Regions from separate parts of the Homo sapiens genome. Here region 1 is linked to region 2. The links are contacts of gene promoters, found by promoter capture Hi-C in human tissues and cell types (Jung and others, 2019). All regions are on one chromosome and are shown on one strand. Each heading gives the region's core, a stretch centred on a gene start or on the middle of the fragment in contact. The rest is flanking DNA. Distances are from core to core; before and after follow the strand shown. Region 1 overlaps VMP1 (vacuole membrane protein 1). Region 2 holds the start of MRPS23 (mitochondrial ribosomal protein S23).

Region 1 (4,504 bases), core at 1,473-3,972, 2.0 Mb before region 2:
TGGATATGAAATGAATATTTATGTAAAGCATCTGGCACAGTGGGTGCTTACTGAATGTTAATTTCCTTCCCACATCCTTCCCTTTCTTCATTTATATTTTCTATCTCTAGCATTTTACTAGAGTTTTTCCCTCAGCCTAAAATACACACTGGTCCCTCCTATTTAATGAATGAATTAATTCATCTGGTCAACAAATATTTACAAAACAATTAAAATGTGTCAGACATGACTTTCGCTTGACCTTTCCTCTAGCCCACAATTCCATGTAATCCAATATATTTGGGTTTTAATTTTCATCATGCTACTAAAATGCTCCATTAAATGGTCAACGGTAACTTCCAAATACAATGTACCCATTTCTCATCTAACAGTCTAACTCCAGAACTCCTGTTTTAACCTTTATGTGGTCTCCCAATATCCATAACAAACATATAGAAAGGTTAACTGTCAAAAGAGAAGGATATATAAACTACCACGGACAAGAAGAGAAAGGGGTTTTCCCAAGCTGCAGAAAGAGGTTATGTTAGACTGTATAACTGAGTCTCGGCAGCTGGGGTTTAAACCCTGTGTTAAGCCTTAAATTCTATCCTTTCATCAGATAATACAAATGCTGGGGTTCCACACTTCCATAACTTTTTCTGATTATTTTCAATGATCAAAGTCAAAGAGAATCAAATACATGGACCATTTTATCCTCTAAAATGAAAGGACAGATTTTCTTTCTGTAGAAGAAAAAGTCCAGGCCCACGTAGCTCATTCTGACCACTTTCCATAGAGTGAGGGATAAGAAACAACATTCGGATTCAAGCACTTTATTACTCACTGGTTAAAATGATCTCTCTTGCCACAGGCAAGCCTGACTCTGAGGTCAAGCATCAAGTTAGCTCAGAAATAGGAGACAGCAAAGAAGAGCATGGAACATTCTGTATCTGGTAAAAAGTCCCTGTTCCAGCCAACACCATCCCCCAGCCCTCAAGTTCAATGATTGAGTTATGGAAACTTTTCTTGTGTGGTAAAACTGGGGACTTTGTCTTCCAATAAGACCCTGGCAACATGACAATGAGCCAATGTTCTGCATATGGTTTGCTGCGAGTCATATGCTTAATGTTATTTTCTGGGAATTCACATCCCCTATTTGGTGAGAATATGGGAACATGTCATTTTAATCATAACTTTAAAAGTTAGATTTGGTTATGCTCTTTAAGAAATATGCACAGGTCTCTCCCACTGGAGAAAGTCTAAAATTAAATAAAAATTAGTATTAAATCGTAATTAAAAAAACAAAAAGGGCTGGGCACGGTGGCTTATGCCTGTAATCCCAGCACTTTGGGATGCCAAGGCGGGTGGATCATGAGGTCAGGAGTTTGAGACCAGCCTAGCCAACATCGTGAAATCCTGTCTCTACTAAAGACACAAAAATTAGCCAGGCATGGTGGCAGGTGCCTGTAATCCCAGCTACTCGGGAGAATCGCTTGAACACAGGAGGCAGAGGTTGCAGTGGGTCGAGATTGCACCACAGCGCTCCAGCCTGGGCAATAGAACAAAACTCTGTCTCAAAAAAAAAAAAAAAAAAAAAAAAAAATCACAACTAACATAATGCCTTTTGAGCTAGAAGTTCCCTAGTTCTTTGGTTCTATCACCTGACTTTGGGTCTCGCCATGTTCGAGACCAGGCTGGACTCAAATTCCTGAGAATTCAACCAATCCATCTGCCTCGGCCTCCCAAAGTGCTGGGATTACAGGCGTGAGCCACCATGCCTAGCCAATTTTTTTTTTTTTTTTTTTTTTGAGACGGAGTCTTGCTCTGTCACCCAGGCTGGAGTGCAGTGGCGCAATCTCGGCTCACTACAATTTCCACCTCCTGGGTTCAAGAGATTCTCCCACCTCAGCCTCTTGAGTAGCTGGGACTACAGGCACCCATCACCACGCTTGGCTAATTTTTGTATTTTTAGTAGAGATGGGGTTTCACCATGTTGGCCAGGCTGGTCTTGAACTCCTGACCTCAGGTGATCCGCCCACCTCGGCCTCCCAAAGTGCTGGGATTACAGGCGTGGGCCACTGCGCCTGGTCCTTTTTTTTTTTTTTTTTTAGAAGGAGTCTCCCTCTGTCACTGAGGCTGGAGTGCACTGGCACGATCTTGGCTCACTGCATTCTCCACCTCCCGGGTTCAAGTGATTCTCCTGTCTCAGCCTCCCGAGTAGCTGGGATTATAGACGCCCACCCCCACGCCCGGCTAATTTTTTGTATTTTTAGTAGAGATGAGGTTTCATCAGGTCGCCCAGGCTGGTCTTGAACTCCTGACCTCAGGTGATACACCTGCCTTGGCCTCCCAAAGTGCTGGGGTTATAGATGTGAGCCATCATGCCCGGCCCCAGCCAAAAGATTTTTGATACCCTTTTTTTTTTTTTTGGAGACAGAGTCTCGCTGTGTCGCCCAGGCTGGAGTGCAGTGGTGTGATCTCAGCTCACTGCAAGCTCTGCCTCCTGGGTTCAAGTGATTCTCCTGCCTCAGCCTCCTGAGTAGCTGGGACGACAGGTGCCTGCCACCATGCCCGGCTAATTTTTGTATGTTTAGTGGAGACAAGGTTTCACCATGTTGGCCAGCATGGTCTCGAATTCCTGACCTCAGGTGATCTGCCCAAAGTGCCGGGATTACAGGCGTGAGCCTCTGCGCCCGGCCCGGGATTCATTTTTCATTCTTCCTTGCCTTATTATCTCATAATTTTATTTTAAATTTCAACTGCTGCTGGCTTTTTTCTTGCTTGTCTTTTGATTTTGTTCTCTACCATGACAAGTTATCTCTCCTTTATTTGTGACTGCAAGGTTTTAAATATCCTTCAAAAGACTGCATTCTGAAGTTTACTAATTTAGTTTGATGATTTGCTATACCATTCAGCGATTTTTTTTTTTTGAGGCAGAGTCTCGCTCTGTCACCCAGGTTGGAGTGCAGTGGCGTGATCTCAGCTCACTGCATGATCCGCCTCCCGGGTTCACGTCATTCTCCTGCCTTAGCCTCCCAAGTAGCTGAGATACAGGTGCCGTCCACCACACCCGGCTAATTTTTTTTTGTATTTTTAGTAGAGACTGGGTTTCACCATGTTAGCCAGGATGGTCTTGATCTCCTGACCTTGTGATCCGCCCACCTCAGCCTCCCAAAGTGCTGGGATTACAGGTATGAGCCACTGCCCCCGGCCCGATTTTTTTTTTTTTTTTTGAGACATATCTCACTGTCATCCAGGCTGGAGTGCAGTGGTGTGATCTCGGCTCACTGCAACCTCCGCCTCCCAGGTTCGAGAAATTCTCCTACCTCAGCCTCCCAAATAGCTGAGATTACAGGCATGCGGCACCATGCCCAGCTAATTTTTGTATTTTTAGTAGAGATGGGGGTCTTACCATGTTGGCCAGCCTGGTCTCAAACTCCTGACCTCAAATGATCTACCCGCCTTGGCCTCCCAAAGTGCTGGGATTGCAGGCGTCAGCCACCATGCCTGGCCCATTCAGGGTTTTAACAGTGTGAAGGAGAGAACTAACAATTAAAGGAGAATGTTTATTTTCTTTCTTCCTTTCTTTTTTTCAAGAATCAGGGTCTCACTCTGTCGCCTAGGATGGAGTGCAGTAGTATGATCATGGTTCACTGCAGCCTCAACCTCCTGCCTCAAACAATTTTTCCATCTCAGCCTCTTGGGTAGCAGGGACTACAGGCGGGTACCACCATGCCCAACTAATTTGTTAGTGCGTTTTTTTGTAGAGACAGACAGAGTCTTACTATGTTTCCAGGCTAGTCCTGAATTCCTAGCTTCAAATGATCTAAAGGAGAATGTTTCTACAGCAGGTTAGAGACAGTGTATCTAGTGAGGAAATCCAGCTGTTCACCTCCTCTTTTCTGAAATAAAGTACTACTCTATTAATTATGATATGAAATCATATATTTGGGTCTACTAAAAATTTGTTCTCTTTATTGAACTTAATCTCCATTTTAGGTTTGGTGAGGCTACTTATTAATTTTCAATTGAACACTTGTATTTAAAAGCATTTCTGGCTGGGCATGGTGGCTCACACCTGTAATCCCAGCACTTTGGTGGGCCGAGGCAGGTGGATCACTTGAGGTCAGGAGTTCAAGACCAGCGTGACATGGTGAAACCCCATCTCTACTAAAAATACAAAAATTAGCCAGGTGTGGTGGTGCACACCTGTAATCCCAGCTACTCAGAAGGCTGAAGCAGGAGAATTGCTTGAACCCGGGAGGCGGAGATTGGAGTAAGCTGAGATCACACCACTGCACTCCAGCCTGGGCGACACAGCAAGACTCTGTCTCAGAAAAAAAAAAAAAAAAAAGTATTTCCTACTTCAAAACATAAAAAAACCAATCATGTCATGCTCAATTGGAGAATCTGATTAAAAGATAATGTTATTAATGACAAAGACTAAAAGGATACCCTTTGGGATCTGATAATAAAGCTTTACTAGCATCTGCTGAGTCTAATTATTTATACTGTTTAATATATT
Region 2 (5,172 bases), core at 871-3,370:
GAAGAGGAAGGGACCACCCCAAGATTAGCGAGAACATTTCTGCCTTGCAGTTCTTCCCCTATTGAGGGTTTGCGTCTTTGGTTCCCCTCCTTGATCTTGGAATAAACCCTTTAACTCTTTAGCTGCAGTGACTGCACTAACCTACAGTAGCAGTTCCTGGTGGGAGAAGAGAAGTGTGCCTGTAATCTGGGCTGGCAGATAGTGCTTGCTGGCTGGGACAGAATTAGAAAGTTGTTATGAGGCCTGGGAAGACTATATTTAGCTGGGAGCATGTTTACTCTCCCCAGAGCAAGGTCTTTTAGACCTCCTGAGGGCTGGGATACTAGAGCCTTTACACCTGGCCTGGGGCCAGAGCTGTGCTCTCTCTTCTCTGTTCCAGAGGGTCTGGAGGCAGCAGTGAAATCCACCTCAGGTTAGCCCTGGGCCTCAAATCACTGGATCCCTGGCGTGCGTGTGTGTGTGTGTGTGTGTGTGTGTGTGTGTGTGTGTTGTGGGGGGGGCGGGTGGGGAGCGGCGTTCTGCTGGACTCTTGAGCCTACCAGCCTCGAGCTTTAGGCATAGCTTAGGCGGCATTGTGAGGCACTGGAAAGGGCCCTGGCTGCCCCACCCCCCCAAGGCTGGCTCTATCAGTTGCTTATCAGACAAGTTATGTAACTTCCTGAGGCCTTGCTTTCTCATCTATAATGAGGATGTTAATAGCTACCTTATGGGAAGGTATGTGGATTCAGTAAGATAACACACACAAGCAGTAACTACTCATCAAACAGTCCCGTCCTCCCCTTCACCAGCCTCAGAGTGGGAGGACTCTAGGATGACTTGACTAGGCTCCCAGGAGACATTGTGTGTGATTCAAAACATTCATTGGATTAAAAGTTCAAATATGAATACAATCTCTTTACAAGTCAAACTCTGAAGCATGTGTAAAGGAAGAAAAAATTCTCCCTTGCCTGCCTGCAGTTTCACTCCGAGATATCCAATGTTCACAGCCTTGGGTGTCCTTCTGCAGAATTTCTATCCTCAAACACAAACATATATAGAGGTGTTTCTTTTTCCTTTTTTTTTTCTAACACGTTGAGATTCCACTAAACATGTTTCTTTGCAACTTCGTTTTTCATTTAAACATAAGTCATGTACCTTAACCTTGGTAAATACATGTGGATCTAGCTCATTCATTTTAATAGCTGCATAGGGTTCCAAAGAAAGTATGAACAATAATTTTCCAGCTATTTCTCATCTGATGGATTTTTTTTCCCACTACAAACAATGCTGCAACGATGATCCTTGCACAAACATCCTCATGAATTGATGCTTTAATTTCTAAGGGGTTCTTTCCCCGAAATATGATTACTGGGTCAAAGGGTATGCTACACACAGTTTATATTTTTTTACAGTTTAACACTGAGAGATGACTTTCTCCAGATTTTTTCGTTTCCCTCTCGGCGTCTGTTTGTTCCGGACACTTTCACTTTTCGAGTTCCAAGGAGGAGGTAGCCCGCGACACCGGCCGCGGGAAACACGAGTTGCAGCCAGCATCCTAGTTAGCGTGGATGCAGGTGGCACTCCGGGGACGAGGGGCTTAGTGGGGAGCACTACACAGCCAGAGGCGGAGGCCCGAGATCTAGCACGACGCTGGGCAAGTGACGGCCCCTCCCCGGCCTTGGTTTTCTTCTGCGTAGTCTGTGACTCTAAACAACATTAGGCTCAGCCTGGGCCTAGAGCTGGTGACCTCAAATCTCGGCCTTTGTTGGCTCCCCTAGGACTGTAGGCTGCGCTTCACCCCTGCTCTGCCCCACTACTTCTCCTCCGCGCGGCCCCACCTTTTCAGAGGAGTTGGCTCAACAAGGCGAGAGAGAGTAAAGCAACCATCATGATGAATCCCTCCCACAGCTCGGTCATTTATTACTTCTGTCCGGCTTTGGCTCGCTCCTGCCCTTTTGGCTCGGCTATCGAGTGCTCCTGCCTGAACCTGGCAAGTAACCTCGGAGCGCGCCCGTTCGGCCTATCACTTGCTTCTGCCTGCGCCGCTCTCCCGCAGGGGCTGCGGTGAAAGCCCAGCGATCCTTGGCTCGGCCAGCAACTTATGCGCCCTTTACCTGGAGCAGCCGCTTCCGGTTCCGGTAGCAGCTAGTCACGCTCGGTACCAGGCGCAGATCATGGCAGGCAGCCGGCTGGAAACCGTAGGGAGCATCTTCTCTCGGTGTGTGCTCCCAGCCGTGGTGGGCTGAGGGTGCCTCCCCCAGGCTGGGGTTCTCAGCCGGTCACGCTCTTCCTTGGAGCGGACCTGAGCAGGGCGAGGCGTATTGCAGGGTGCGGGGGCTGAGCTGGGTGAGGCCCTCTCATGTTTTCTCCTGGCTCCGAATAGTTGTGCCTGAGGATGCCTCTCCTTGAATTTATGTGTCATGTTAAAGATTATTGCAGCTGCCTCTCCCCGAGTGGAGGTCTCTAGGAAGAGGAAGGGAGGAAGAGCCTGATGGGCCTTCCTTATCAGGTCATGCAAGACCGCTCTTTGCATTTTTCCGTGACCGAACGTGGGTGGGACGCACAAAAGAAGATAGAGGGATTTAACTCTCCTGAGCGTTGTTAAGTTTGGTTTGGGATGTGGACAGATCTTCTCTGTAGGTGGGGAGCAGTCCTTCCCCGTTCTGTGTTGCAGACCGCATAATACCTTTAATGTCCCAAACTGTGCTAGACTGATTCAGGGGCTTTGGCAGGCTACTGCAAGTGACCCAGTTTCGTTCTGTTCCCTCCCTAAGGACTCGGGACCTGGTTCGGGCCGGGGTGCTGAAGGAGAAGCCCCTGTGGTTTGACGTATATGACGCCTTTCCCCCGCTGAGGGAGCCCGTCTTCCAAAGGCCTCGAGTGCGATATGGCAAAGCCAAAGCTCCCATCCAAGACATCTGGTACCACGAGGATCGGATTAGAGCGTGAGTGCTCAGCCCTGTAGTGGACAGGAGGCAACAGAACTTCAGAAGGGAAGGTTTCGGTAGCAGTCTGGGAATTCAAACATGAAATTGAGTCAGGGGTTTGCCCTGTGGAGAAGGCTTATCTAGCCAAATTAGGGAGGCAGCACCCCTTCCTCATAGTGAAACTGAAGTTCTGAAAAGTGGAATCTGGAGCCCAGCAACCGAAAGATCATTGCAATTATAGCCGCATGTTTCTGGGCATCTGCTTTGGGCCAGGCACTGTACTAAGCTCTTTGCAAGCATTATCTCATTCTCTAAAGGCCTTACTCTAACTTGTAAGGAAGGCATTCTTGTTTCCATTTTATTCAAGGAGACTGCGAAGCTCAAGGAAATTAGCTAACTTCTTGTAATTACTAAATATATAGGAGGGTGGCAGATCTGGGAATCACATCTCTGACTCCAAGCTTATGGTGATCATTATGCCGGCCTTCTCCACGAGTGGAGATAGGAGGAACGTGGTCTGTGGATCTAGTAGTCCGGCTCTTTGAAGCCACTCAGATGAAAGGATGCTTGAAAGTCTAAGAGAGGCCGGGTGCGGTGGCTCACGCCTGTAATCCCAACACTTTGGGAGGCCAAGGCGGGCGGATCACCTGAAGTCAGGAGTTCGAGACCAGTCAGACCAACATGGTGAAACCCCGTCTCTACTAAAAATACAAAAATTAGCCGGGCATGGTGGTGGGTGCTTGTAGTCCCAGCTACTCGGAAGGCTGAGACAGGAGAATTGCTTGAACCTGGGAGGTGGAGGTTGCAGTGAGCCGAGATCCCACCACTGCACTCCAGCCTGGGCGACAGAGAGAGACAATCACTAGGAATTTGAAGGAAAATCATGTGTTCTTTATTTTTTTTTAGCATCCCTTTTCTCTTTTTTTTTCTTTTTCTTAAGCTCAGTGGCAAGAATACTTCCTCTTTTATTATAAAAGCAACACATGCTACTTGTAGAAAATTTAGATACACAAAGAAAGCATAAAAAGAAATCACAGGCTGGATGTGGTGGCTTGTGCCTGTAATCCTAGTGCTTTGGGAGGCATAAGGGAGGATAGCTTGTGCCCAGGAGTTTGAGACCACCCTGGGCAACATAGCAGGACTTGTCTCTACCAAAAAAAAAGTAGTTGTCTTAGTTTACACTCTGATTAGCAGTTTCTGAGAGTTCTTACTTTATCCTTGTCAGTATTGATAATGATTATTTAAGAATTTTTTTTTTCTGGGCCAGGCACGGTGGCCCACGCCTGTAATCCTGGCACTTTGGGAGGCTGAGGTGGGCAGATTGCCTGAGCTCAGGAGTTCGAGACCACCTTGGGCAATATGGTGAAACCCTGTCTTGACTAAAATACCAAAAATTAGCCGGGCTTGGTGGTGGGCACCTGTAGTCCCAGCTACTTTGGATGCTGAGGTGGGAGAATCGCTTGAAACTAGAAGGTGGAGGTTGCAGTGAGCTGAGAGTGCACCACTGCACTCCAGCCTGGGCAACAGAGGGAGACCCTGTCTCCAAAAAAAAAAAAAGTTTTGTTTTTTTCTGATCTAAGTATTTTTTTTTTTTTCGAGATGGAGTCTCACTCTGTCTCCCAGGCTGGAGTGCAGTGGCGCAATCTCGGCTCACTGCAAACTCTGCCTTCCGGGTTCATGCCATTCTCCTGCCTCAGCCTCCTGAGTAGCTGGGACTACAGGCGCCCACCACCACAGCTGGCTAATTTTTTGTATTTTTAGTAGAGACAGGGTTTCACCGTGTTAGCCAGGATGGTCTCAATCTCCTGACCTCGTGATCCGCCTGCCTCGGCCTCCCAAAGTGCTGGGATTACAGGCGTGAGCCACCGCGCCCGGCCTCTTTATTCTCTTTTTTTCCAAAACTTAAATAGTCACAGAAAATGTGCTCCTAATGGTTGCCTAGGAACATTCTTTTTTTTTTTTTTTGAGATGGAGTCTCGCTCTGCCACCCAGGCTGGAGTGCAGTGGTGTAATTTCAGCCCCATGCAACCTCCACCTCCCGGGTTCAAGCTGTTCTCCTGCCTCAGCCTCTTGAGTAGCTGGGATTACAGGCTCACGCCACCATGCCTGGCTAATTTGTATTTTTAGTAGAGATGGGGTTTCACCATGTTGGTCAGGCTGGTCTCAAACTCCTGACCTCGTGATCCGCCCGCCTTGCCTCCCAAAGTGTTGGGATTACAGGTGTGAGCCACCGTGCCCGGCCTCCTAGCAACATTCTTAAAAATAT

What was found. Contacts are between HindIII fragments. The study calls those that stand out against the background at their distance.
Region 1: a contact is called between a fragment that was not itself captured here and the fragment with the promoter of MRPS23 in region 2, in 1 of the 25 tissues and cell types used here (aorta).

The regions. Positions count from the first base shown.
Region 1 is chr17:59,822,156-59,826,659 of GRCh38, reverse strand. The region is part of intron 10 of VMP1 (vacuole membrane protein 1); the gene reads right to left. Among named protein-coding and RNA genes, the nearest start is that of MIR21, 17 kb to the left of the region's middle. The HindIII fragment of the contact is 4,753 bases long and covers 346-4,504 here.
Region 2 is chr17:57,846,992-57,852,163 of GRCh38, reverse strand. It overlaps MRPS23 (mitochondrial ribosomal protein S23), which reads left to right and starts at 2,120. Exons shown (of 5, transcript NM_016070.4): 1 at 2,120-2,197; 2 at 2,754-2,924. The coding sequence starts at 2,154. RefSeq lists enhancers at 1,625-2,134, 1,810-2,139. The HindIII fragment of the contact is 5,598 bases long and covers 16-5,172 here.